Linked DNA regions of Homo sapiens: all the other regions are linked to region 5. The links are contacts of gene promoters, found by promoter capture Hi-C in blood cells and fetal thymus (Javierre and others, 2016). All regions are on one chromosome and are shown on one strand. The core of a region is centred on a gene start or on the middle of the fragment in contact, and the rest is flanking DNA. Distances in the headings are between cores, read along the strand shown. Region 1 overlaps ALK (ALK receptor tyrosine kinase). Region 2 has its middle 20 kb from the start of TOGARAM2. Region 3 overlaps ALK (ALK receptor tyrosine kinase). Region 4 overlaps ALK (ALK receptor tyrosine kinase). Region 5 holds the start of ALK (ALK receptor tyrosine kinase).

The links. Contacts are between HindIII fragments. The CHiCAGO score rates a contact against its expected background, and 5 or more counts as called.
Region 1: a fragment that was not itself captured here is called in contact with the fragment with the promoter of ALK in region 5 in 1 of 17 cell types (M0 macrophages); the score reaches 5.1 in M0 macrophages.
Region 2: a contact is called between a fragment that was not itself captured here and the fragment with the promoter of ALK in region 5, in 2 of 17 cell types (endothelial precursors and megakaryocytes). The highest score is 8.4, in endothelial precursors.
Region 3: a contact is called between a fragment that was not itself captured here and the fragment with the promoter of ALK in region 5, in 1 of 17 cell types (M1 macrophages). The highest score is 6.8, in M1 macrophages.
Region 4: a fragment that was not itself captured here is called in contact with the fragment with the promoter of ALK in region 5 in 2 of 17 cell types (M0 macrophages and M1 macrophages); the score reaches 7.2 in M0 macrophages.

Annotation. Positions count from the first base shown.
Region 1 is chr2:29,316,057-29,318,756 of GRCh38, forward strand. It overlaps ALK (ALK receptor tyrosine kinase), which reads right to left. Exons shown (of 29, transcript NM_004304.5): 8 at 2,248-2,348. Among named protein-coding and RNA genes, the nearest start is that of CLIP4, 200 kb to the left of the region's middle. The HindIII fragment of the contact is 6,615 bases long and covers 1-2,700 here.
Region 2 is chr2:28,959,834-28,962,533 of GRCh38, forward strand. It overlaps a transcript of TOGARAM2 not described here. Among named protein-coding and RNA genes, the nearest start is that of TOGARAM2, 20 kb to the right of the region's middle. The HindIII fragment of the contact is 393 bases long and covers 1,088-1,480 here.
Region 3 is chr2:29,259,528-29,262,227 of GRCh38, forward strand. All of the region lies in intron 11 of ALK (ALK receptor tyrosine kinase), which reads right to left. Among named protein-coding and RNA genes, the nearest start is that of CLIP4, 150 kb to the left of the region's middle. The HindIII fragment of the contact is 2,997 bases long and covers 1-2,700 here.
Region 4 is chr2:29,239,786-29,242,485 of GRCh38, forward strand. It overlaps ALK (ALK receptor tyrosine kinase), which reads right to left. Exons shown (of 29, transcript NM_004304.5): 13 at 1-45. Among named protein-coding and RNA genes, the nearest start is that of CLIP4, 130 kb to the left of the region's middle. The HindIII fragment of the contact is 3,930 bases long and covers 1-2,700 here.
Region 5 is chr2:29,920,336-29,923,035 of GRCh38, forward strand. ALK (ALK receptor tyrosine kinase) reads right to left here and starts at 1,251. Exons shown (of 29, transcript NM_004304.5): 1 at 1-1,251. The coding sequence starts at 324. The HindIII fragment of the contact is 5,353 bases long and covers 1-2,700 here.

The DNA.
Region 1 (2,700 bases), core at 17-2,516, 600 kb before region 5:
ATGCAATATCCATTTTTTTCTGCCACTGGGGTTTAGCCCGCCCGGGAGGAGGAAATCAACTTCCTGCATTCTGCATTTAGGATTCACATAAAATAAATGGTAGGGCTTACAAATCTAGAAATGCATATTTCTATTTTGGTTATTTATTTTCCTGATAAAAACATTTCTCCCAACATTGGGAATTCAAAGACCCATCAGCATTAGACAAATGGTCTGAAAACCTGAATGTGAAATCATATGAATATATATAAATATAAATAATGTGAGTGTGGAATGGACTTATTCCCTTCCTTTCATTATGCCTGCTGAGCCAAGTTCTGGAAAAGGGCAGGGAATAGCAGAAACAGCCCAGAGCAAATTAGACTGCAGGAAAAATAAAACAGGCCAGTAAAACGAAACACCTGTTTAAGCTATTGATCAACTCAAAGGTTATTAGAGAAATGATGAAGTATTAGAATAATATCATTTGTACCTTGACATTTCTTTTTCTGAAATTTGGCTCATATTAAACCCAGCGAAGAGTAAATTTAAAGACCAAATGCTCTTAAGGATCCTCCCGTCCTCTCCGGTGGGCCAACCATCTGTCTTCATTTATATGTTCTCTCAAAAAGCCTTCCTTTCTAGGTACCTGCTCTCAGACACCTGAGAAATATCAGCAATGACTGTGTAATTCCACCATCTGCATGAGATAGCATGGTTTCTCAAACACAATTTAATTTAATGAATCTATTTATTTGTGCTCAGAATTCTTCCAAAAAGGATTTAAGGTGGTTCACAGAGATACATAAAATCTAGTAGGATAGCATAGCCTAGAAGAGGGTGAGAAGGAAGTGGCGAATGTCGAGTTATAAAATCAAACCAGGAGTAAGCTGCTACAAATTGCATATCACAAAGTCCCATTTGCTTGCCAAGTGGAGCCTTGGTTTTAATTTAACCACTCCTCGGATTAAAAAATCATTTCTACATCTTTTCCATTCTTATTTGTTTTCTGTCTGTGAGTTTTTATTTTATGAGAAACTCGAGGGGCTTGATTCTGCCTGCATCCCTTAGCAGGGGCAATCCTGTTGTCTGTCCCTCTGCTGGCCACAGAACCACCACCCTGGGATTTCTATTAGCCACAGAAGGAGAAGTGAATCTGGTCAGTTTCACAATGTCTACAACTTGACAGGAAACAAATTGCTCAGAGGGTGCATAGCTATTCCTGAAACTGAGCCAGACAGGAATTTCTCCTGTGAGTGTCCAGAACGAGATGACTGGCCAAACCCAAACTACGTGTAGGTTTTCTACTACACGCAAGATGTTGATGCAGGTGCAGTGAGGGAGTACAAAGAAGCACAAGACATGGCCTGCTCTCTTGGAGCTTACAGTCTGATTTCTGGCTCAAGTTCTCTTCCTCTTCCCCCAGTGTCCTTCTGAATGTTGATACAGTGTGCCAGGCACCCTGTGGGCTAAATACTGCAGTGCTTACTTTGTGCCCAATGCTCTTCCAAGCCCTTTGGACATTATCTATTTAATCCTCACTCTTCAGGATAGGCACTATAAATGTGTTCACTTTCCCAGTGAGGAAACTGAAGCCCCAAGAGGTTAATTAACTGCCCAAACAAACTATACAATCAATCAGTGGTGGAACCCGACTTGGACTCAGAAATTTGATTCTAGAGTCCATGAGCTTAATCACTGTACCATGCTGGGGTCTTAAGTACATTTCTTGGCCCCTAAAGAATATGACTGTATGCTAAGGAACAGGGCGCCAGTCCCTCCACCCACACCAATGAGATAACAGCATCAGGAACCATTTGAGAGAGTAGTTTTGGAGGTACCTCACTGAATGCCATTGATGTCTTAGTGAAATTTATGTAAATCAAATTTTTGAGGATGTATAGTATTTACAATGTATTACAAGAGCTCAATGTTTTTAAAAAGGATTCTGTAGAAAGTCTTTTGCAATCCTTGTCACTCTCCCTTGTTATGCCATGGAAAATCTCTTCTGGGTTTGATTAAATCATGGTTCTACTGCAAGTAGTTCAGTGCAGCTGGGTATGGCTGTTTAAGGCATGATTCTCTGTAGATAGGGCTTTACCATGTTGATGGACATGCTCTGCCTCGAAGATGGCAGAGGTGGCCCTCTTGTTCTCTCCCCAGGAGAACGACCAGCCCAGCCAGCTAGGCTACTTTCTTAATCTGGGTTCCGGAAGTGACAAGAGGTGGGAGGAGAAATTAGAGAACTAGAGAAACAAGGAGACTTGCCTCACATGGAGAGCTCTTGATCGGTGCAGGAAACGTAGCACTGGTCACTGTAGCACTTTCAGAAGCGGGGACATCAGTGGTACTGAGCAATAGAGCATGGTCTAGGAGAGAGGAAAAGAATCACAAGCACGCCATTATCAGGAACTGGGGGACCAGGGGTGCAGGGTTAATGGACTGTGCACAGTTCTTATCTAGCCTAGGGATATCTTTGAGGAAACAGGTTTCTGGCCTGCAATGGAGAAGAAAGCCCACCTGTCAACAATTTCTTTTTTTTTTTTTTTGAGACAGAGTCTTGCTCTGTAGCTCAGACCGGAGTGCAGTGGCGCGATCTTGGCTCACTGCAAGCTCCGCCTCCCGGGTTCATGCCATTCTCCTGCCTCAGCCTCCCAAGTGGCAGACTACACAGGCGCCTGCCACCACGCCCGGCTAATTTTTTGTATTTTTAGTAGAGAC
Region 2 (2,700 bases), core at 34-2,533, 960 kb before region 5:
ACGGGGATATGTTCTGAAAGATGTTGTTAGGTGAAATTGTGTCATTGTGAGAATCAAAGAGTGCACTGACATAAACCTGGGCGGCACAGCCCGCTACACATGTGGGCTATCTTATGTAGCCTACATTGTTTCTAGGCTACAAACCTGGACAGCATGTTCCTGGACTGAGTACTGTAGGCAGTTGGAACACAGAGAGATGTGTGTATCTAAACATAGAAAAAGCCAAGTAATACGCTATTGTATTATAATCTTATGGGACCACCGTTGTATATGTGGTCCAACATTGACCAAAATGTCATTATGCAGTCCATGACTATATTTGGCTATATTTTTCTTCATCTGTATTTGTGTGCATATATTTATTTTTGCTGATCTACTAGAAAGTAAACTGAAGGCATCATCACACTTTATTCTTAACTACTTCAGGGTGACGTGCCTACAGATTATGACTCCTGCAATAACTACAATACCATTCTTATATCTCTGAAGCTCCAAACCGTAATCCCCTAATACCATCCTCCTGTCTAATTATTTAATATTATTTAATTTTTAATTTTTTTTGAGGCAGAATCTTGCTCACTCTGTCACCCAGGCTGGAGTGTAGCAGCAGCACGTTAATATTCAGTTTCTTTTCAAATCAGGATCCAATCCACACTCACTCACTGGGTTTGTTTGTCAAGTCTTCTTTAGTTACTTTTGCTCTAAAACGGTCTCTTACCCTCTTGCCCCCTTAGTTTTATCTGTAACAATCACACACCGAGGAGACCAGGCCAGTTGTCTTGCAGAATGAGCCACATGCTGGATTAGATCATTTCCCTAAGTGAGTTTAACTCATTCCTGTACCCTCTGTATTTTCTATCATCTGGAAGTTGTACCTCGGAACTACCCAGTACAACTTTCTGTGATGACAGAAATGTTCTCTGTGCTGTCCAAAATGGAAGTCATTCACCGCAGGTGGCCAGTGAGCACCTAACATGTATCCATGTGGCTGAGTGACAGAATTGTTAATTTTATGTCATTCTCACTAATTTACGTTTAAATAGCCACATGTAGCTAGTGGCTATGGTCTGAAACAGCACAGGTCTTAAGCTTGATTCGATTTGACAAGACATCAAAGGTGATGCTGTATACTTCATACCGGAACACACCAAGAGGCAAGATAATGACAAAGTCTTTCTTTTTCTTTTTTTTGGTTTGAGTATGATGTTTAGTATAAGATAGAGTGGCTTGGCAGAGTTGGTGCAAAACTGAAGAGAACCAGATTCAGTTCTAGTCAGTGAGTTAGCAGCCTAGGGTCAAAAAAATTGACCCTGCTGTCCTGAGTCCTCTGAGGCCCTCTGCACATCACCAGCTAGAAGCTCCGAGACTGATATGCCACTGCTTGGAGGCTTGGGTAGAATCCAAGTGTCCTCAGTTTCCAGAGTGACAAGAGACTGGCCCCAGCCATCAGAGCAGTAGACAAAGGCTTTTGTTTAAAAAAAGCTTTGAGGTATAATTTATTATTTAATTTTTAATTTTTTTGGAGGCAGAATCTTTCTCACTCTGCCACCCAGGCTGGAGTGTAGTAACGCAAACTCGGCTCACAGCAACCTCCGCCTCCTAGATTCAAGCGATTCTCCCACCTCAGCCTCCCAAGTACCTGGGATTATAGGCGCCCGCCACCATGCCCGGCTAATTTTTGTATTTTAGTAGAGATGGGGTTTTACCATGTTGGCCAGGCTGGTCTCGAACTCCTGATCTCAAGTGATCTGCCCGCCTTGGCCTCCCAAAGTGCTGGGATTACAGGCATGAGCCACTGCACCCGGCATGAGGTGTAATTTATAATCAATAACAATATTTTAAGTGTAAAGGTCAATGAGTTTCAACAAATGTCTACACCTGTATAGTCACAACACAATCCAGATACAGAAGATTTCTGTTATCCCAAAGATTCCCTTGTGCAGCTTCCCAATTAATCCCAAATGTCCCTCTTTTCCACAAGTCTGAGGAAACCAGTGATATACTTTCTATCATTATGGAATAAGTGTCTTTGCTTCAGCTTCATATAAATAACATCATACAAAGATACTCTTTGTTTTTTCTCCAACTACAATTACTTTAAGTCTCTGAAACAATATTTCCTTACAACTTAAGTAGTTTTTACAGTAGTGACATTTATCATTGATGGGATTTGCTTGTTTAATATGACTATAGTCAGAAGGGAAGTTGGGCCTATTATTCTTCCAGAAATTAAAAAAAATCATCATTAAGGAAGAGAAAGATTTATATCATCTTTTTGGGACACGTAAGTCTCACAGTTGGAGAATTTGCGGATATTGCTATATACACTATATATACATACATAGTTTTTTTTTTTTTTTGAGACAGAGTCTCGCTCTGTCACCCAGGCTGGAGTGCACTGTCATGATCTCGGCTCACTGTAACCTCCATCTCCCGGGTTCAAGCAATTCTCCTGCCTCAGCCTCCCAAGTAGCTCAGATTACAGGCATGTGCCACCATGCCCAGCTAATTTTTGTATGTTTGGTAGAGACGGAGTTTCAGCATGTTGGCGAGGCTGGTCTCAAACTCCTGACCTCATAATGCACCCACCTTGGGCTCCCAAAGTTCTGGGATTATAGGCGTGAACCACCGTGCCCAGCCTACATATTTACTCGTGATTCTGGTTTTCCAATGACGGATCCTCCATGTTTTTGAGATTGA
Region 3 (2,700 bases), core at 183-2,682, 660 kb before region 5:
GTTGATAATATATTTTTCCCTAGAGTATCTTAAAGATGCTACTCATTTTCTTGTTATATAAAGTGTTGCTGTCAAAAACTGATAATTTTAAATTTCCTTCTCTAATAAGTCACTTGCTATTTTGCTTAGGTGTCCAAAGTAATTTTTTTCTTTCTATTTAAAGTCCAGCAATTTTACTAGAATACACATTGGTACCGCTCATTCTGGGTTAATATTCTTAGGTATACAGTGTGCTCTTTTAACAAGTAGCTTCAATAAGGATATTTTCCTGGAGTTATACTTTTAAGTATTTTGTTTTGTTCTAGTTATTCGGTTTTCTTCGTCAGGTCTTTCAATTATTTCTATGTTGGATCTTCATGTATATTCTAGTAAAGTTGCCGGACTTTAAAATAAAAAGAAAAAAATACTTTGGGCACCTAAGCAAAATAGCAAATGACTTATTAGAGAAGGAAATTTAGAATTATCAGAGTTTTTGACAGCAACACTTTATATAACAAGAAAATAGAGTCTTTGATGTGTGTCATCTTTTTCATTTTAAAAAATTTCCTCTTTTTAACTTCTATTTCTTATAAGGCATAAACTGTTGTGTTTGTTGGCTTTTTGTTCCTTCCCTTAATAGATTAGCCTTCATTTTTGAAAATAGTTTTTCTTTTATTGCAAATTCTTTGCTGAGTTCTAGCACCACATTTCTGTTTTTCTTACAATGACTTACGTTATTTTTCATGTCTTGTATTATTGTTTTTGTGTCTTTTAGCTCATTTTAAAACAGAAGGTTAGATTCTGACTCATCCAATAAGCACGTCTTTCTGGCATGATTTTGCTTTCTGTAGGCGTGTTATTCCGCCCTCTGTATCCTGTTTTTGTTTTCTTATTTTAATTTTGAATGATATTTGATCTTGATGCTCTTCTGTTATGTATTTTTATGTGAGATTAGTTTTCCTGGATTTTTAGGGTTCAGGAGCTTTTTTATTTCACAGAACTCCCTCTACTCCTTTTTTTAATACAGTGTTCAAAAATATGGCAGTTTGGCCAGGTGTGGTGACTCATGCCTGTAATCCCAGCACTTTGGGAGGCTGAGGCAGGTGGATCACCTGAGGTCAGGAGTTCAAGACCAGACTGGCCAACGTGGTAAAACCGTCTCTACTGAAAATACAAATATTAGCCAGGTATGGTGGTGGGTGCCTATGTCCCAGCTACTTGGGAGGCTGAGGCAGGTGAATCACCTGAAGCCAGGAGGCTGAGGTTGCAGCGAGCTCAGATCATGCCACTGCACTCCAGCTTGGGTGACAGAGGGAGACTCTGCCTCAAAAACAAAACAAAACAAAAAAAAAAACAACAACAAAAAAACGCAGTTTGCTTTCTGAGGTTTCTGACTGTTTCTTTCCTTCACTTTTATCTGGACATTCTCTTATTTATTCTCTATTATCCCTTTCCTACTCAATATTGATTTTATCCCCAGAACTTTCTTCTCCAAGTGGGCCCTTTCCTGCAATGACGTTTGCTGGCCAGGCTGCTCCAGCGCCTTCAGATCTGACTGTGGTACTCCTGGTCCCCTGCACTGGGCAAAGCCGCTCCCACTTTCAGAAGCTGCTCTCAGACTGGCTTTCTGTAATTTCTAGCAACTATCTCTTGGCTACTTAGGGGTTCTCCTGTTCTCAGGCCTGTTTCTTTCCTGTCTTATATCTTGTACAGATGCTGATACCATGCAGGTCTTGTGGTTGTTGGTGCTTTGACCTATCTCACTTGCATTTTGAAGTTTTAGGGGAATGCCTTATTTTCAAATTTTGCTGTCAATATTGTTCATGGGTTTTCAGTTTTGATATATGGGTGTTCTGTGCTTATGTAGGGATTTGGAAAGATTAAAAAAAAAAAACTATGCTGTTACCACCATCACTGCCCTCTTCCCAGAATCCTAGAAACATTTTTTAAATGTAGAAATCATTTGAGCTCATTTGCTATGGTGAGCCCCTGTATGCCATTTATCTGGTCAGAGCCCTCACCTGCATTTCTCTTCCTGGGCTGCAGGTTTGTTTTTTCAGATTTCACCTCAGGGACATCTCCAATGACCATGGTCTAGAACCTGCCGTTTCATTATGCTCTGCCTATTTTCGATACAGCTCACTAAGTATAATTTAACCTTTTCTTGATAGTGCTTCCCAGACTTAATGAGTTGTTTAGGGCTATTTGACTCTTCACTAAATGGCCTCAGGCATAAATATTTTATAGTGACTCTGTCTCTGCTGGCAGGTGTCTCTCGGTACTGCAGCATGTCCACCCGTGTTTAATCTTACTTTACCTCTAAGATCAGGTGAGGGCATGAGAGTGGCCCTACCCCTCTTCATGTATCAGGCTAAGGGGCAGTTAACTGCAGAAAATCTTTATGTCACAGTTTTGGAACGTATTTATATTTTGGCATTTATATTTGGTGGATGGTGGAAGGTATTGGAAGTCTAACTTCAGATAAAAGGATGGTATCATGATTCTGAATGAACAGGGTTGAGAATGTTGAGGCCTTCAATTTCAATGGACAATTTATGGTACATTTCTCCTCCAGTAAGCCTAGCTCCTTACAACCACGATAGGTCAGTAGATAGGGAAGGGAGAAGAACTGTGACTTTTGTCTCATAAGTCATGCAATCATGTAGAAAAGTTAAGCAATTGGCCAGTGATTGCAAAGTAAACCTGGGGCTAAGTGAGGAG
Region 4 (2,700 bases), core at 49-2,548, 680 kb before region 5:
GTGTTCTTCCCGCCTTTCCCGCCAGCAGCTCCGTAGCCCGAGATGCTGCAATGGGACAAAGAACGTTGGCTCCCGCTGTGGTATGAAGACTGTCCCCCTTCCTGCCAACCCAGCAGCTTCCAGTGGGCTAAGCACATCGCCATCGTGGTCTGAGGGTTCTCCCCCATATCAGTCCCTGCAGAAAGGGATTCTTCTCCCCCACTTCAGGAAAGGACGATCAAGTTTAGAGAGGGACAGGGAGTTGCCTCAGTCACAGAACTAAGAAGGTGAAAGACTAGTAAAGGGTGCAAGAGAGAAAGAGAGGAAAAGGGCAGGGAGGAGGGAGGGAAGAAGGGAGAGAAGGAGGGGAGAGAGAGAGGGAAACAGCAGAGAGAGAGAGAGAGAGAGAGAGAGAGAGGAGACTATATGAATGTGGCATATTGGGGTGATGGCTTTCTGAATACCTAGGATTTCCTCATTATGGTTTTCTCTCCTTGTCCCAGATCAATGGACTCATGTGACCTTAGACAAGTAACTTCCCTATTCCTCATCTATACTATGGGGATAATAAGTGAACTTGCCTCCTAGCCTACATGTGCTATGAGGATTAAAGAAATTAAGACATGTGGTCTTAGAATTGTGGCTGACATGTAATAAGCACTCAATTAGTATTAGTTAATTATTATTATTATTAATGACGGTAGTAGCCATAATTGACTTGGTACAAAGTTGTAAAGTCTCCCCATGGGGTCTGGAAACAAGGAGGTTCCTCACAGAATGACTGAGGAGAGCAGTGTATATGAGCCGACTGTCTATTCCCATCTCACTGGTAACTCCTCCTGGAGAAATATGTGTGCAAACAAACAACCCATCATGATGAAAATAAAAACAGAGTGTGGGGATGGGAGATGATTTCTGCTGCCTCTTAGGTTGCTGCAATGAAGTCAAGCAAGGATGGGGAGAAAAGAACTCTCTTCTGAACCATATCAGAAGAGCGGCATGTCTTGAAGACAGCTAACGCACCAGCTAACAAATGTGTCCCCAGGGACCAGCTGCCAGGGTATGGGACTCGGCAGACTTTCACATCCATGTGTATTCAGATCCAAGGTCTTTTACAAAAAACCAGGAAGAGATGCAAGGCAGTTTTGCCCATGTGCACATAGTAGCTCCTTTATCTACAGTTCCAGGAAATGTCCCTTCTTCCAAGTGTGTGAGGGGCCTCCCGGAGCTCTCACAAGGCAGAGCCCACGGCCCTTCTGCAGAGGCTGTTTGCGAACATGGCAGGCAAGGAACTGAGGTCTTCATGGAATGCAAATGGAGAATCTAGTGCCCATTGCCCTGGTGAGTGCCTGGGCATTGATGGGAGTTTATTGAATGTTGGGAGCGGTGTAAGGCGTTGTGAACCTGAGATAGCTCCAGGCTCTTCAAGAGCTCACAAAGAAACTGAGGAGACGATCTTCATGATGAAAAGAGAAGTCTCACCATAGGGTGGCTATGTTGAGGAGGCAAAGTGGAGTGCTCCCGGGCTCCCTGATCAGGTGGGGCCATTTCCTGCCCCTGTGCCCTCTCTGAGCCCCAGCCCCTTTCCTAGTAAGAGAAGAATCATTTTCATTCCAAACAACATGATAGTCCAACAAAAGGAGCTCATGGGTGAAAGCCCCGGGGAAGCTGCAAATCTCTGGCCAAAATAAGGGTCGTCAGGTGCTTAGGGCCAGGAGGGAGATGGGGGATTGCGACAGGTGGTTGTGGGGTGTGGTGATGGGGTGAGGAAGGCTGATGTTGGCTTCACATGGAGCTTGCAGATGGGTAGGGCTCTGAGACAAGCAGAAAGAGGTGGTGGGAATTGGGGCTTGTGTGAACGGAAGTGAAGAAGCAGGGAGCCTCAAGTATGTCTGGCTGCAGCAGGTGGATGGAGGGGGAAGCTGAGGGCTGTAGGTTTGGAGAGGGCTGTGGGCTGATTACCAGCATCCTCCAATGTGCCAGGCACAATGCATGCTCACAGGCACACGGCATCACCCAATAGCCATAAACGGCAAATGTTATTAATCTCATTTGACAAATGAGGAAACTGAGGCTCAGAGGGACTAAGTAACTCATCTGAGGCCACACAGCCAGTCAGTGGCTGGCTATGGTCCAAACCCTTGCACATCCCCTCTTAGAGGTCATTTCCTCCCCAATGTGCTGCTGGGATGCACAAAGAGAGGGGTCTGAGAAGCTATTTGCCCCTCCTAATTCCCAGACTCTCAGCCAAACACTCCCTCCTGATCCATGAGAAATGGACAAGGTGATAACAATAATTAAAAGGCTGAGAAAAAGGAAGGCTTATTGGTGAAAGGTAAGAGGAAGCAGCATTATTTAGCTCAGTGAACCTGGGCAGGGGACGATGTGGCGGCTTCCTGTAGTCTAGGGACAGCAGTGTGGATGGGCCCCAACTCTGTCCTGCTCACTGCCCCAGGTTTCTGAGTCCTGGTCAGGCTGCATAAAAAAGTCATCTCCACCTGAAGATGTGGTTTGCTTGGAAAACTTCAGCCCAGGACAAAGTCCTCATCCTACCCACTCCTGCTGTGGTTGAGAGGTAAGCGTCATGCTGCCCATTCCTTTTGGCATCATTTGCATAGTCATTTGCATCAACCATGCATTATGAATCATTCTGAACTCTTTCGTATGTTTAAATTTAGCCAAATTATTATATTTTAGACGTTGTTTGTTCCTGACTCCTTT
Region 5 (2,700 bases), core at 1-2,500:
GACCCCCGGCGCCGGCCCCAGCAACCTGAGCAGCGGGGCGCAGTCCAGAGCTAGCGAGCCGCGGGCCTCGGGCCTGCCAGCCTTCAGCTCCGAGGAGGATGGTGGCAGCAGTAGGTCCCGGGCGTAGACACGGAAGAGCGAGGGCACCACGAAGTCAACTGCCAGACTCTTCCTCTGCAGGCGCGAGTAGCTGAGTGGCTCCCGGGGCTGCAGCGGCGGCCCCGCAGCTGGGGAGCCCGCGCGCTGGCCGGTCCCCATCCCGGAGCCCACAGCTGCCGTGGAAAGCAGCAGCGGCAGGAGCCACAGGAGCCCGATGGCTCCCATCCCGCCGGAGGAGGCCGTTTACACTGCTCTCCGGGCCCAGCCTCACCCTTCGCTCTCCCCGAGATGGGAAGAGGCTCTGAACAGTCCTTGGTACCCAGCGGCTCCTTCCACCTGATCTCCAGAGGACTGTGCGTGCGCGCAAGTCTCTTGCTTTCCCCCAACTGCACGGAGGCGAGCAGGAGTCTAAATGAAACAGACCTGGAAGCTCAGGGGCGAGTCCAGAGACACTCAAGCACACTGGGCTCACTGGCTGGGACCTTGAGCCTCCCGCTCTCCGCGCCGAGTGCCGCGCCCCCGTCTGTAGCTCGCTGCGCTCGGTACAGAGGAACTACTATGGTTGAAGGGAGGTGGCAGTTGGGTACCGTCCTCTCCTGCCCCCCGCAGTCGGAGCTGGGGTCTGTCCCCTCTCGGGGCAGCCTCCAATCTCTGCAACTTTTAAGGCTGAGAACGGCGGCTCCCAGCTGCTGCACGCTGTCCTGGCCGCCTTTTGCGTTCCTTTTGGCTCCTCCAAGCTCTTCTGCCCGGTCTGGGCGGGAACCGAGGGCGGAGGCTGCCGTCTTGCGCACCCTCAAGCTATCTCTCCGCTGCGGGAAGGCTTCGGACTGTCTGCCTGCTGAACTTCTGGGCGTGAATCCCAGCCCCCGCGCTGCGCAAGTTTGCAGCGTCCTTGCTCTCACCGGCGCCTCGGCTCCTCAGAGTTCGCAGGCACTGGAGCGGCCCCGGCGGCAGCAGCTGAGGGCGTTCAGGGCAGGGGCGCCCGAAATCTTGCCGCCCCCTCCTCACCCATCATCAGCGCCCGCGGCTTTGGGTGGCCGACCAGAGGGCGGCCGGAAAGCACCTCGGTGCCCCGCGACCCTCCGAACAGAGGCGGCGGGAGGTACCAGCTGCTACCACCGCTGCCGCCCCCAGAGCCGCTGGATCGCATCTGCCTGGGCGCCCGCCACTTGCAGCTGGCTGAGCCGCGCGAGCGCGCGCAGGGAGGGGGCGGGGCCCGGAGGGGGCGGGGCTCACAAGCCAACTCCGCGCTGCTGCCCGACCCACGCAGTCCGGCCTCGCCCCGCCCCACCCGCACCCTCCAACCAATGGCGTGGCTCGATCGGCTCCTATGCAAATCTGCAGAGGCCTCGGCATTCATTGAGAAAAGGAGTGAGCCCGCCCCACCCTCCCTCTGTTCCCTCTCCAGTCTCTTGTTCTTCCCCTCCTCTAGATTCCCTGCCCTATTTCTCTGCAGTGTGAAAGGGAGCAAATGTGAGAACTGGAAGAGGCCTTTGCAATCAAGCACTCTCCCTAATTATACATTTAAGAGATTAAACGGGTCCGACTTCGGAAAAACAGGTTCCAGAATAAAACTGGAGGAGAGGGGAAGGGAGGGGGGAGTGGGAAGGGAGGAGGAAGTGGGGAGAGGGTGGCAGCGCGACACTGGCAAATCTGAGAACAGCTTGTATTAAGGCCCTGAGACAGAATATTTTCTGACCCATCTATTATTTGAATGCATTCCTGGGAGCTTAGGAGTCCTGCCGTCCACACAGGAGAATTTGGGAATAGGGGGGCAGAGAGGGATGGATGGTCTTGGTCTGGCAGAGTTGTTCTGCAGCTACAACAAATACCTTTCAGACCCCTGTCAGTCGCTCTGTTTTCTCAGAATGGTGTCTGAACATGTGTAACCTCCCCTAGTCTCTGTAAGGCAAACATTTTAATTCCAGATTTACAGATGCAGAAACTGAGTTGCAGAGCATTTAATTGTTTGCCCACAATCTTGGGAATGAGGGTTCAGAACCTTAGGCCTTTTTTACTCACCTGTAATGGCTGTACCTCTCCTCTCCCTTTCCTTTCGTCTCTCCTGAGCTGCCAACACAGAACTCATAATAGCTGTTTTTATAACAAGTGGTTCACTAGATCCTCAGACAAAACTACCATCTTTGGGTCACACAAATCCCCTTGATTCCTTCTTAAAGGCTGGTTGTCAGGCCTTGGGCTGACTGTTGAAGCTAAGAATAAGGCAAGATCCTCTCTGGAGCTCACGGCCTGTCGGGTAGCACAGGAGTTTTCTCACAGGATCAGAGCACAGTGTCACATTGAACCTCCCTCACTGAGCTCCTGGGGGCCGCAGTAACTTGCCTACCACCCCACAGGAGATAGTGGCCAGGTGGAACCTCTGTTCTCCTAGGAGCTGGGCCTTTCCAGCTTTGTGGCAATGCCTTGGCAAGTGGAAGACCCAGTAACAAAGGAATATTGATTCTCGGAATGGCTTTCTTCCTGCTCTATGTTTGGCAACTCACTTAATTTGACAGGCATCTGCCCTCTCTCTGGAAGTCACACTGGATACACTGACTTTACAAGTTTCAGGGCAAAGAATTATCTCACCCGAGAAGAAAA